Regions from separate parts of the Homo sapiens genome. Here regions 1, 3 and 4 are each linked to region 2. Evidence: promoter capture Hi-C in human tissues and cell types (Jung and others, 2019). All regions are on one chromosome and are shown on one strand. Each heading gives the region's core, a stretch centred on a gene start or on the middle of the fragment in contact. The rest is flanking DNA. Distances are from core to core; before and after follow the strand shown. Region 1 overlaps DMC1 (DNA meiotic recombinase 1). Region 2 holds the start of APOBEC3F (apolipoprotein B mRNA editing enzyme catalytic subunit 3F). Region 3 overlaps GTPBP1 (GTP binding protein 1). Region 4 overlaps GTPBP1 (GTP binding protein 1).

Region 1 (3,193 bases), core at 171-2,670, 480 kb after region 2:
CCCCCTCTCACTCAGAAAAGAAGCCAAAGTCCTCTCCCATCTCTAATATTTCACTTTTCTAGTTTTCTATGTACCAGCCATAGTGACCTCTTTGCTATTCCCAGAATATGTCAGATACACTCCTGCATCAGGGCCTTTGCACTTTGTGCTGCCTCTGCCTATCATATTCTTTCCTCTTAGATCTACATGGCTTGCTGTCATCTCTTTCAGGTCTTGGCAAAAATGTCCATGTCTCAATGAGAACTTCTCTGATCACTTTATTTGACAGTATAACCTCCTAACTTTCATACTCTGTCTTCCTTGTCCCCTTTCCTGGCCTTATTTTTATCCATACCATTTAATAACATCTGATGTACTACATATTTTACTTATTTGTGTTTATTTTTTATTTTATTTATTTATTTTTTTTTTCAGACGGAGTCTTGCTCTGTCACCCAGGCTGGAGTGCAGTGGCATGATCTCAGCTCACTGCAACCTCTGCTGCCCAGGTTCAAGCGATTCACCTGCCTCAGCCTCCCGAGTAGCTGGGATTACAGGTGCCCGCCACCACGCCCGGCTAATTTTTGTACTTTTAGTAGAGACAGGGTTTCAGCATCTTGGCCAGGCTGGTCTTGAACTCCTGATCCCATGATCCACCGCTTCAGCCTCCCAAAGTGCTGGGATTACAGGTGTGAGCTACCGGCGCCTGGCCTATTTGTGTTTATTATCTAATCTCTCACTAGATTGTAAACTTCGTGAGAGAAAAAAATTCTGTCTCTTTTGTTCTCTAGTTTATCCCAAGTGCACAAAACAATCCCTGGCATAAACTAGGTGTGCAATAAATATTTGTTGAATGACTAAATGAATGAATAAACAAATAGTGAATAAGTTTGAGAAGTACCATATACTATATATTCTTCTTGAAGAGTCACAGCGCACACTAGCCTGTGAAATCCTGCAGTGACACAAAACACCTGTTTTGGCAGGGCACGGTGGCCCACACCTGTAATCACAGCACTTCGGGAGGCCAAGATGGGTGGATCACCTTAGGTCAGGAGTTCTAGACCAGCCTGGCCAACATGGTGAAACCCTGTCTCTACTAAAAATTACCAAAAAAATGGCTGGGCACGGTGGCTCACACCTTTAATCCCAGCGTTTTGGGAGGCCGAGGCGGGTGGATCACTTGAGATCAGGAGTTCGAGACCAGCCTAACCAACATGGAGAAACCCCGTCTCTACTAAAAATACAAAAAATTAGCCGGGCATGGTGGCATGTGCCTGTGGTCACAGCTACTCGGGAGGCTGAGGCAGGAGAATCGCTTGAACCTGGGAGATGGAGGTTGTGGTGAGCCGAGATCGTGCCACTGCACTCCAGCCTGGGCAATAGAGTGAGACTCAGTCTCAAAAGAAAAAAAGAAAAAGAAAATACCTGTTTAACCCAGCATTGTCCCAGACTTTTAAAATCACATACCCTTTTTTCAAGTAAAGTTAAGGAAGAGGCTTGGAGAAATCCTACCCCTAGGCAAATTGGTCAAAATGAGGTTGATCAACAAAACACTTGATTCAAATGACAATCTGATTTTCTTTAGTTACTCTACCACATGGTGGTCTAAGAACCACTGGGCTAAAGAAATAATTACTGTTATTGTGAGTTTTCTGGTGCCCTTGATGTTTGCTCTTGAGAACAGAAAAGATCATTCAGGAGCTAGGTTTTTTTTTGTTGTTTGTTTGCTTTTGAGACAGAGTCTTGCTGTGTCGCCCAGGCTGGAGTGCAGTGGCATGATCTCGGCTCACTGCAACCTCCGCCTCCTGGGTTCAAGCAATTCTCCTGCCTCAGCCTCCTGAGTAGCTGGGACTACAGGTGTGTGCCACCACACCGGGCTAATTTTTGTATTTTTAGTAGAGACAGAGTTTCACCATGTTGGCCAGGCTGGCCTCGAACTCCTGACCTCAGATGATCCACTTGCCTCGGCCTCCCAAAGTACTGGGATTACAGATGTGAGCCACTGCGCCCAGCCAGGAGCTAGGTTTTTAAAAATTAATATTTAATTAATTAAAATATTATACATTTTTCCTTAAGCTTTAAGTCCCTTTATAAATCTAGCACATTTTAAGGGTGCTTTTATAACAAGATTAAATTCTCTTAAACATTTTAATTATGTTTATACATTTAGTGTATTGTATTTTCTTTAAGAACTTTATTTGTTGGCCAGGTGCACTGGCTCACACCTGTAATCCCAACACTTTGGGAGGCTGAGGCGGGTGGATCACAAGGTCTCTACTAAAGACAGGATCACCCTGTCTCTACTAAAAATACAAAAATTAGCCGGGCATGGTGGCGGGTGCCTGTAATCCCAGCTACTCAGGAGGCTGATGCAGAGAATTGCTTGAATCCAGGAGGCAGAGGTTGCAGTGAGCCAAGATCACGCCACTGCATTCCAGCCTGGGCGACAGAGTGAGACTCCGTCTCAAAAAAAAAAAAAAAAAAAAAAAAGAACTTTGTCTAATTATCTAATTATTAACAGCAAAATCTTCCCAATTACCTAAATATCTTTTGTAACTCAAATAAATTTAGAAGTATAGTGAGTTGTAGGCACCATTAAATGTTCAAATACTATTTATAAAATTAGTTATCAACTTGAAAATTGAAGGAATGTACCATTTAATCAGTCAGAGGCCAATCCATTACAAAAAGGTCAAATTATCTTAAACGTTAAAAGGTCTCAAATAGCAAATATGCACAGGTTATTACCAAATTTATTTATTTATATTCTATTTTATTTTTTGAGACACGGTCTCACTCTGTCACCCAGGCTAAAATGCAGTGGCTCCATCACGGCTCACTGCAGCCTGAGTAGATGGGACTGCAGGCACAGGCCAGCATACCTGGCTAATTTTGGTATTTTCTGTAGAGACTGGGTTTCGCCATGTTATCCAGGCTGGTCTTGAACTCCCAGGCTCGAGCGATCCACCTCCCTCGGCCTCCCAAAGTGCTAAGATTACAGACATGAGCCACCATGCCCATATTGCCAAATTTAATATGAAAATAGTAATCTATGGGTTTGATTTGTGTCTCTATTTTTAAATCTCCCTATATTTAAAAACACTATTTCTACACTTAATTCTAAATTTTCCTGAGTCTCAAAAAGGAAACAATTGTGCTATCCCAAATAATTTGGGGTATCCTCACAGGTAAATTTTGGGGTTACCTTTTC
Region 2 (3,181 bases), core at 502-3,001:
CTTGGCTGGACATTATGGCTCATGCCTGTAATCCCAGCACTTTGGGAGGCCGAGGTAGGCCCATCACTTGAGGTCAGGAGTTTGAGACCAGTCTCACCAACATGGTGAAACCCAGTCTCTACTAAAAATATAAAAATTAGCCAAGCGTGGTAGTGGGTGCCTGTAATCCCAGCCACTGTGGAGGCTGAGGCAGGAGAATCGCTTGAACCTGGGAGGCGGAGGTTGTAGTGAGCCGAGATCGTGCCACTGCACTCCAGCCTGGGCTACAAGAGCGAAACTCCATCTCAAAAAAAAAAAAAAAAAAGAGAGAGAGAATAAAACTATTCACCCCAAAATAATAGATTTTAACCTTTCAGCCAGTTCCTTCTGACATTTCACCTCTGTATATTACTATTGTTAAATCATGGTAGAACCGAATTCTGAGGCCCAGGCCACTCTTCTAAGTGCTGCGCGGATGTGAGCTCATGTGAGGCTGCCCTAGGCCCGCACGGGCCATTCCCATCTTACAGAGGAGGTGCCAGAGGCGCAGAGAGATGGGGTAACCTGCCCAGGCCACAGAGCTGGGGACGGATGGGGCTGGGGCCTCTTACCAGACCAGCCCTGTCCAGTCTCTGTGTCACCAGCCTTGCAGGAGGGAGCCATTGGGGACCAGACTCTCTTCTTACTAAATTTTAAAATAATAGCATTTCTCCTGATCATTGAGTTTTTTTCCCATATATTCCATGTTTTTTGTTTTTGTTTTTTTTTCTTTTGAGACGAAATTTGGCTCTTGTTGCCCAGGCTGGAGTGCGATGGGGCGATCTCGGCTCACTGCAACCTCCGCCTCCTGGGTTCAAGCGATTCTCCTGTCTCAGCCTGTGGAGTAGCTGGATTATAGGCGCCCGCCACCACACCCGGCTAATTTTGTATTTTTAGTAGAGACAGGGTTTATCCATGTTGATCAGGATGGTCTCGAACTCCCGACCTCAGGCAATCCACCCACCTCAGCCTACCAAAGTGCTGGGATGACAGGTGTGAGCCACCGCACCCGGCCACTATATTCCATGTTACTCGTGTCATTTATAAACAGTGAATGCTGATAGTGGAGGAGGAGCGTGTGTTTGGGGTCATCTGCATCCTCCTCTGCCCACAGTGGAGACATCCTTGGAAGATACGATTTATCTTGTGCTTCAGAGACCATTCCCTCCCCACACCCTCTCCTAAGACTTGCTATTTAAGCAAAGTAAATGTTACAGAAAATCCATCAAAGCACTGTGAACAAAATTCCACATTGCTCTAATCATCCTTTGGTTCAATTCTCCCAGTTCCAGAGTTCAGGAATGGCGGAAAGAACACAGAGGGAGCACCCTCCCAGGGCCGGGAGCACCAGCCCTGCCATGACTTTCGGTGGCGGGGGAGAGTCTCAGCAGGGCACCTGGGCTGGGGCAGGTGGGGAAGCGGCCTATTCAGAAGCAGCAGTGGGGCAACCACAGAGCAGGAAAAAGAGCCTGGCTGGGAGTGGCGGGGGCAGGGGAGCCAGAGGGGAGGGAGCCCAGGGCTGGGGCTGGGGCAGGGGGAGGCCAGGGCTGACGCCCAGCAGAGCCACCAGGCAGGAAGGGGCAGCAGAGGGGCCCAGCGGGTAGAGCGGGCAGCGGTACCTGAAGTGAGGCTTCATCCTTGGCCGGCTAGTCCCGACTAAGATCTTTGTCTGGAGCACCAGGGTTTCACTTTCTGCTCCAGGCTCCAGGTTTCAGGACAGCCCTCCCTAAAGTGACCTCCCAGGGCCTCGTAGTCATGGCCCCTCCCCCTTCCTGCTCAGGCGCTGGTGTAGGAGGCCCTGGGACGCTTTATCTTCCTCAGTCTCTCACCCTCTTTCTGGTTTTCTCTGGGGCCCTCCCCCTGGCAGAGGGACCTCTGATAAAGACAGGCCGCTCTGTGCGGCAGGACCCAAGGCAATTGCAAAGGGAAAGAGAAAGTCATTGCAGCCAGCGCCCGCGAGGTGGGTCCACACCAGGCTGAGCCAGCAGAGCACAAGCCCCTCCCCTGGTGGTCCCGCCCAGCTGGAGCCTCCTCTCCACCATCAAGACAGACAGGCTGATGCCTCCGCAGGGACTCCCGGATCCTGCCCTCGGGGATCATCCCAGAGACGGCCCCCACCCAGCGGCCATGGGGACAGGGAGGGAGAGTAAAGGGCCAGGTGTCTGCCTCTCCCCAGGCCTTCACCCTCGGAGGCCACCGTGGGAGGGAGGGACAGCAGGTGGGTGTGGGCCTCAGATGTCCCACCGGGATGCCATGCGCGCCCCCACACTGAGCTCTTTCCTTCCTGCTTCTCCTTCTTCCCCATCTCCTGCCCGGAGTTCCTCCCTGGTGGGCTGAGCTCTCGCCTCCTCTTGTCCCCATGTCATGGAAGAGCAGTGGCTGGTGTCCCAGGCCAGCCTGTCTGGAGCCTCCCTGCGCGTCTCACAGCTCCCTTCCCCTGGTAGCGTGTTCCCATGGCGCGGTGACCTAAAAATTACACAAGGGATGCATTTGGTTTTTTTGTTTGCTTTTGTTTTTTTGTGTTTTTTTGTTTGTTTGTTTGTTTTGAGACGGAGACTTGCTCTGTTACCCAGGCTGGAGTACAGTGGCGTAATCTCAGCTCACCGCAACCTTTGCCTCCCAGGTTCAAAAGATTCTCCTGCCTCAGCCTCCCATGTAACTGCGATTACAGGCACCCACCCCTACGCCTAGGCTAATTTTTGTATTCTTAGTAGAGACAGTGTTTCTCCATGTTGGTCAGGCTTACAGCCGCCCACCACTATGCCTGGCTAATTTTTGTATTTTTAGTAGAGACAGGGTTTCTCCATGTTGGTCAGCTGATCTCGAACTCCCGATCTGAGGAGATCCGCCCGCCTTGGCGTACCAAAGTGCCGGGATTACAGGTGTGAGCCACCGCGCCTGGCCACAATGTATAAATTTGGAAAGGAGATTTTATTTCTTGTTAAGGGTGACAGGCAGCAAGGTAGCCATCCCGCAGCCTGGGAAGAGCAGCCTCTGGGAAACACCAGAGACAGACATTTAGAAGCAGGAGGGGTTGGGGCAGGAGCTTTATGCTGAAGGGGTTGGCTAAACATACATATTCAACAGGCTATAGGAGGAGCTATGAATATTCATGTGGGTGGCTGCACTCCATGCTTATTGAACAAACATGCGTGTAACATAT
Region 3 (2,951 bases), core at 399-2,898, 330 kb after region 2:
CTCAAACTACAAAAGAATTATTACCTGGCTTTACAAAGCCTACATTCAGCAAAGAAAAGTGTTTCTTTAATGATGCATCCAGGCCCACCTGGGCTTCCTGCAAAGATGACAGAGACAAGTGCTGGTATGGGCTGAATTCATAATCGTTAACAACCCCAGCTGTCATTTCAGCAAAGATAATCCCATAATGAAGATGAAGGTAAGCAGGTCTTGTATTGAAGTTGCTAACTAGGAGTGACCAGGGGAAGAAACCATAATATACTCTGGGATTGTTGTGAGGGCTGCCTTCCTCTAAAATAGTAGGTTCTGTTACAAGGAATAAGCAGCTTGGAGAACAATAACCAGTCCCTTTCAGAATGGTTACAAGCCTATGTGTCTGACAGGATCCAGTGGGGAGAGAGGACGACCTCTGTTATCCCAGCTATCCAGACTAAATAGTCAGTAGGGTCTGGGGCAAGGAGCCTGACAAGAGAGGAATTCTGGGCATCTTTTCTCTGCTGACACCAAGAAGAATCACGGAGGTCCTCTGCTAAGCAGAAAATAAGTCGCAATGGGATCTGTAAACAGGGCCTGGAAGGGAAGACCTCCAGCTGCCCAGGAATAAGCTTAATTCTAGACCTAACTATGGCTTGCCCTATTACCTTAGACAAGAAGTTCCTTTGCTTTGTGCTTCATTTCCTCTTATGCAAATAGAGAGTACTGGAGGTAAAAAGGAAGCATCTGTAAAACTGCTTGGAAAGTCAAGCATATTATGGCCACTAAGGTCAGAATTAACATTCACTTTGTACTTTTATGTACTCCAAACAGTTCTGCAGACACTAAAGAATCACTGTAACTGAGACACATAAGCAGAAAAGTTCAAAAAGCGGGGAAAATGTGCTCTAAATAATTTCTTTTTTTTTTTGAGACAGAGTTTCACTCTTGTCGCCTAGGCTGGAGCACAATGGCACGATCTTGGCTCACTGCAACCTCCGCCTCCCAGGTTCAAGCAATTCTTCTGCCTCAGCCTCCCAAGTAGCTGGGATTACAGGCGCCTGCCACCACTAATTAGCGCCCGGCTAATTTTTTGTATTTTTAGTAGAGATGGGGTTTCACCATGTTGGCCAGGCTGGTCTCGAACTCCTGACCTCAGGTGATCCACCCGTCTTGGCCTCCCAAAGTGCTGGGATTACAGGCGGCAGGGCCACCGCACCCGGCCCAATAATTTTTAAAAATAAAGTGAAAGGAAAACTATGCTCACCTGATCCCTGCCCAATGACATATATGGTCTCTCCGCATCCCTCGTCCATCCTCTCCCACATCTGCCGAAGTAGGCTGTCATACTGCTCTGATGTAGGGCTCACTAGAACCAGCTAGAAAAGAAACCAACAGCCTTAGGACCACACTTGCTAGAAGAGCACCACAGCCAAAGCTGATCAATATAGCCTAACCAAAGATCCTGACTGAACCCCATAGCACCCTCATCTAAAAAGGCTGCACAGCCCCTTCATGCCCTCTCTGCTTCTCCTGAAGTAGCCTTTGAGCCTCAGGCCTTATATGAGCCAAATAATATACTACAATGTGTATGTCTGAGCCATAACCCATGGTAAAGAGGGCACAAGCAGCCTGCCTCCTGCTGCTTAACAGGAAGGGCAGGACCCAAGTGACTGAGAATATGGCACTGTGGATAGAAAGCGCAGTGCTTTCCATCTACATGCCAAAGTCTTCTACCTGCAGTTGGCATCTGGAAGCCCACAAGACATATACCTCATATACCTCCATGCCCTCCACCCACAGGCCAGTGGCTTCCAGGATAACAAAAGAATTCTGTTCTATCTTGTCTTAGCTATATTGAATATTTGGGAATGAAAACTGCCTGCAAGACTCATCTTCATCAACAAAGCACCATCACCATTACCACTACGAGGAGTATTAGCACCGTCATTTTGCAAATGTCTGCCAATAACATTGAAGTGTCAACCATTTACTTGGGTAAGCCATTTGGCAATCAGACCCCATTCTCTAACCACTCCTGTGTGACCTTGGACAAAGAATTTAACCACTCTGAGTTTCAGTTTTTCAATCTATAAAACGGAGCTAATACTACCTGCATCCTAAGGCCACTGTAAAGAGCAAATATAATAACATGTAAAGCATCTAGTCCACAGCTCAATAAATGTGAAACTACAAGGTTTTCTTCACCCAATCATTCCCAGAAAAACCTTGTTGGATGAAACTAGCCACCACTATTCACTAAGTGTTTCTCCCTTTGGAAGCTCTCGGAGCCTTAGGTCTCCACATTTTCTATCGTAAGGACATGAACCTTTCGCTTCTAATCTGTTCCTCCGGAATCAATCTATTCAACCCAACCCTTCTCTCCCTCCACACCATCACTTTTTCTTTTTGATATCATCGATATTAATATACATATGATTTTTTTTAATTGTAAGGAGGACTTCCCCAGCTATGTGATGAAATAACACTTCTAGGAATATTAAATGAGCTGGTCAAGAAATGAAGGTACTACCGTCTTTGCAACTCTGCCCTGCAATTTCCTATCATGTTTCTTCAGCACCTTGACCATGTGTTGACATCCAGTTTGTTTGCTCTTGAGTCAGGTCCATAATCTTGTAACTTCCTGAGTTGACTCATCAGAGCTTGTAATTGTAACCTGGATGTTTCCTGGGTCTTTTACATCGTCCTGGCCATCCCTCTCTCTAAGTTTGGCCATCCTCATTATGGCCTTACAGGCACAAGACAGGACCAACTTTGACAGGCTAGCTGGCTTCCAAGTGCTCACCTGAGACTACAATGGCAAAGAGCAGTTGAAAATAACTTGCTTAGGTTGCAGGGAAAGTTCCTCCCCAGTTTAGGACCAAGTTTCATGCAAATTTGCCGCCATAAACTATAAAAAGTCACAAACATTTTCAAAGCTGGATAAAATGTCTATCGTAACTATCCTACAAATGTAA
Region 4 (3,157 bases), core at 142-2,641, 320 kb after region 2:
CCCACCCCAAACCCCAGGAGATAGAAGGCTGAATGGGAAGAGGATGTGGCGCAGATCCCAATGGTCCTATGTAGAAGGATCCTTGCACAGCAGGGATACTCCTATTTGACCTCACCACTGAGCTCAGGCCACCCTGCTCAGGCACCAGAGGGAGGAACGGAGCTTAGAAGGAGGCATTCCTCGCTCTAGCACTTACAAGCTGTGTGTCTTGGGCAAGTCCCTGGGCTCTGAGCCTCAGTTTCCTCATCTGTAAAAATGAAGCCAGTAATCCCGACCTTGCAGAGCAGCCATGAGGACTAGAGTGGGTGAGCAGGGCATCTGGCCAAGAGCCTAGCATGATGGAGTCTGAGGGGAGCGTTCAGTATCATCGCTACTCACCTTCTTCAGCGCAAAGGATGCTGTCTGGCCACCCCGCACCTCCTTGACAGGCATGCGCTTGCGATGGATGGATTTGACAGCAATGGACAGGAAGTTACCCAAGGGGTCTGGGCCCAGCAGCAGCGTGTCATTCAGCTTGATCAGGCCTCTCAGTGTTGTCCCCGAAACCACTGTCCCCACACCCTGCCAAGGAGAAGACCCTGGCCTCATAAGTGCATCCCCAGCACAGACCCACCCCCTGATGCCACTGTAGGAAGTGCCCACCCAGCTACCCGCCCAGAGCCACTTACCGGGACGGAGTAGGTGTCATCAATCTGAAACTCAGCAGGCTCCTCCTCCCTGTAGCTGGTGCGGGGGGAGAGGAGGTTGAGGAACATCTTCAGCAGATCTAGGTTCTCGCCTGTAACGTTGGAGATCTGGAATATCGGGCACATCCTAAGCAGAGGGAGAAGAGGAAGGAAAAAAGGAGAGAGGCACTCAGGAGACCAGGTCCTGCCCTGACACAGACCAGGGGCAGCAACAGGGCTCGAGGAGCAGATGCCACTATTCATGACTCCACCTCTCCCTCACCTGCCTCCAAGGGCTTGACCTCTTTGCCCTGACCTAGCAAGCTCCTGGCCAGCCCTACTCTGAGGCCTTCTTCTCTCACTCAGTTCTGTCTCTGACACCTGTCCTCTCCTCTCTGTCCTCCACCACTGCCCTAGTTTGGAACCTCATGACTGCTTCTTCCTAAAACACACGCATGCTTGCTTAAAATCCTTAACCGCCTTTCCACCACAGAGAAGATACCCCAAATCCCTCTCCCAACACTCACAGCCCTTTGGCTTGGGCTTGTAGCCATCTCTGCAGATTCACTTCTCGCAAATTCCTATATTCCAGCCACACCAGAGAACTCTCCCTTCTCCTAAAACTTTGGAACTTTTCTGCCCTTGTGGATTTGCTCACTCTGACCTTCCTTCCTGAATTCTTTCCCTTTTATGCAACTACCAGGCCCTCTCACCCTTCAGAGCTCATCTCAAATACCACTTCTTCCATGAAATCCTTCCTGGGTGGACACTCTTGACTCCTCTGAGTTCCTGGAGAGCTTTTTCTCTATTACACATGACTGCATCTGATTTTTCATCAGAGTCCTGTAAATGGCCTCTATTGCTCCTATTCAGGGTGACTGAATTAAAATCCTTGAGATCACGAATTACACATTCCCCACAGCTCCTAGAATAGTGCCTGCACAGAATAGGCACTCAAGAATATCAACAAGCTCAAATGGGGCTGTCTGAAATGTGCCCCCTCTGCAGGCTAACTGATGGTACTGAAGATCACATCAGGGCAGAGGCATAGGCAAAAAGCCAGGCTGCTCTGGGCCTGGCGCTATAGACCAAGCTCTGGGCAAACAGGCAGAGTTAGTAGAGTTCACCATTATCGAGAGAGCATCTCTCACCAAGGAGCTGAACACCTTGAGGACAAGGATTGTGTTCAATTCAACTCTGAATCCTCAACATCTAGATGAAGAGTCTCGCAGAACAAACATCCAATAAATATTTATGGAATGAAAGAATACATTAATGAGTAAATGCCAAAACTGATCTGATTAGTGAGCTTTTGAGGAACAACAGTATAAAAAACTGAGTTACAAAAATGGCTGTGTATTTACCATCCATCAGCCAGGCAGGGCATTAAGTGCTCTACATACTTCATTTCCAACATTCACGGGAGCCCTACAGGGAAGGGAATGTTATTCCCATTTCACAGATAAGGACACTGAAGTCTCAGCCGGGATGCCAACCCCAGGAATGCCAGCACCTCACAATCTGGGTTACGTGATATTACCCCTGGGCAACAATGCTGGCTTGGGAGACCCTGCGCTAAGATTGGAAGCTTCTATTTCCTCCGATCTCTGAATAGGGAGAGGTGTTGATGTGGTGTTTTCATGAGACCTTATGCCCAAACTGACAGCCATTCCAGGCCCATCACTCACTGTGGTCCTGCCTGCAAGGGTGCCTGTCTGAAGTGTGCGCTCCCCACGCGTTACCTTTCAGAGCTGAAGTTGGAGGCTGTGACAATCACATCATCTTTGCTCTGCACCAGCACGGGGATCTTCCGGCAGCCTGGTGACTTCAGCAGGCGCTGTAACAGCTTCAGGGTTTCTTAAAGGGTGCAATGGAACAGAATTAGGGGGACACAGCCTTCTCTTTGGCCAGGCTTTAAGAGCAAGATGGGTCCACTCATTACTGATGCAAGCAGGAGACAGACAGATAGATGGACCAGTGTTAAATGCCACAATGCCTGGAGAAGCAAAAAGGAGGATCAAAACTTTGGGTGCTGCTAGAGTAAGAAAAGCACAGATGGGGCCTCTTTTCTAGGGTTCTGCGTCTGAAACCTGGCAGATTTCTCTTGTGTCTAGACGACCTGCCTCCTGTAAGCATGTGACTTGAGGGTCCCCAAGAAAAACAATTCACTTCACACTTCAGTTCTCAGAATGCACTACTTCCTGGAAAAAAATCTCATCCAACAAAAAGGATCTCTTAGACATTTAGAAGTCTACAGAGACCCTTATTATGAGGCTTCCCAAAGGGATACTTTTCTACAATCTTTAGCAGTGAGGGAGAAAGGCATGAAGGCTTAGTCCTGCAACCCTGTGTCAAAGCTTTGGTGGCAAAAGGTAATCAGACCCTCTGTCCAAACTTCCCCGTATATATCCAGCTTAGCTGGTAGAGCCCAACTCCTTCTGCCTGGGGTCACCTGAAAAGAGGTGCCAGATTCAGGATCTCAAGATTTCTGC

The links. The method cuts DNA at HindIII sites, captures the fragments that hold promoters and counts their contacts. A contact is called where the count stands out against the background at its distance.
Region 1: a contact is called between a fragment that was not itself captured here and the fragment with the promoter of APOBEC3F in region 2, in 1 of the 25 tissues and cell types used here (spleen).
Region 3: a fragment that was not itself captured here is called in contact with the fragment with the promoter of APOBEC3F in region 2 in 1 of the 25 tissues and cell types used here (thymus).
Region 4: a contact is called between a fragment that was not itself captured here and the fragment with the promoter of APOBEC3F in region 2, in 1 of the 25 tissues and cell types used here (mesenchymal stem cells).

What each region holds. Positions count from the first base shown.
Region 1 is chr22:38,557,236-38,560,428 of GRCh38, reverse strand. The region is part of intron 5 of DMC1 (DNA meiotic recombinase 1); the gene reads left to right. Among named protein-coding and RNA genes, the nearest start is that of DMC1, 11 kb to the left of the region's middle. The HindIII fragment of the contact is 5,518 bases long and covers 1-3,193 here.
Region 2 is chr22:39,039,434-39,042,614 of GRCh38, reverse strand. It overlaps APOBEC3F (apolipoprotein B mRNA editing enzyme catalytic subunit 3F), which reads right to left and starts at 1,751. Exons shown (of 7, transcript NM_145298.6): 1 at 1,638-1,751. The coding sequence starts at 1,654. RefSeq lists enhancers at 52-829, 1,882-1,941. The HindIII fragment of the contact is 19,854 bases long and covers 1-3,181 here.
Region 3 is chr22:38,707,246-38,710,196 of GRCh38, reverse strand. GTPBP1 (GTP binding protein 1) reads right to left here. Exons shown (of 12, transcript NM_004286.5): 2 at 1,241-1,352. Among named protein-coding and RNA genes, the nearest start is that of GTPBP1, 2.8 kb to the right of the region's middle. The HindIII fragment of the contact is 3,166 bases long and covers 66-2,951 here.
Region 4 is chr22:38,723,662-38,726,818 of GRCh38, reverse strand. GTPBP1 (GTP binding protein 1) reads right to left here. Exons shown (of 12, transcript NM_004286.5): 6 at 2,408-2,522; 7 at 669-813; 8 at 379-561. Among named protein-coding and RNA genes, the nearest start is that of GTPBP1, 19 kb to the right of the region's middle. The HindIII fragment of the contact is 3,648 bases long and covers 1-3,157 here.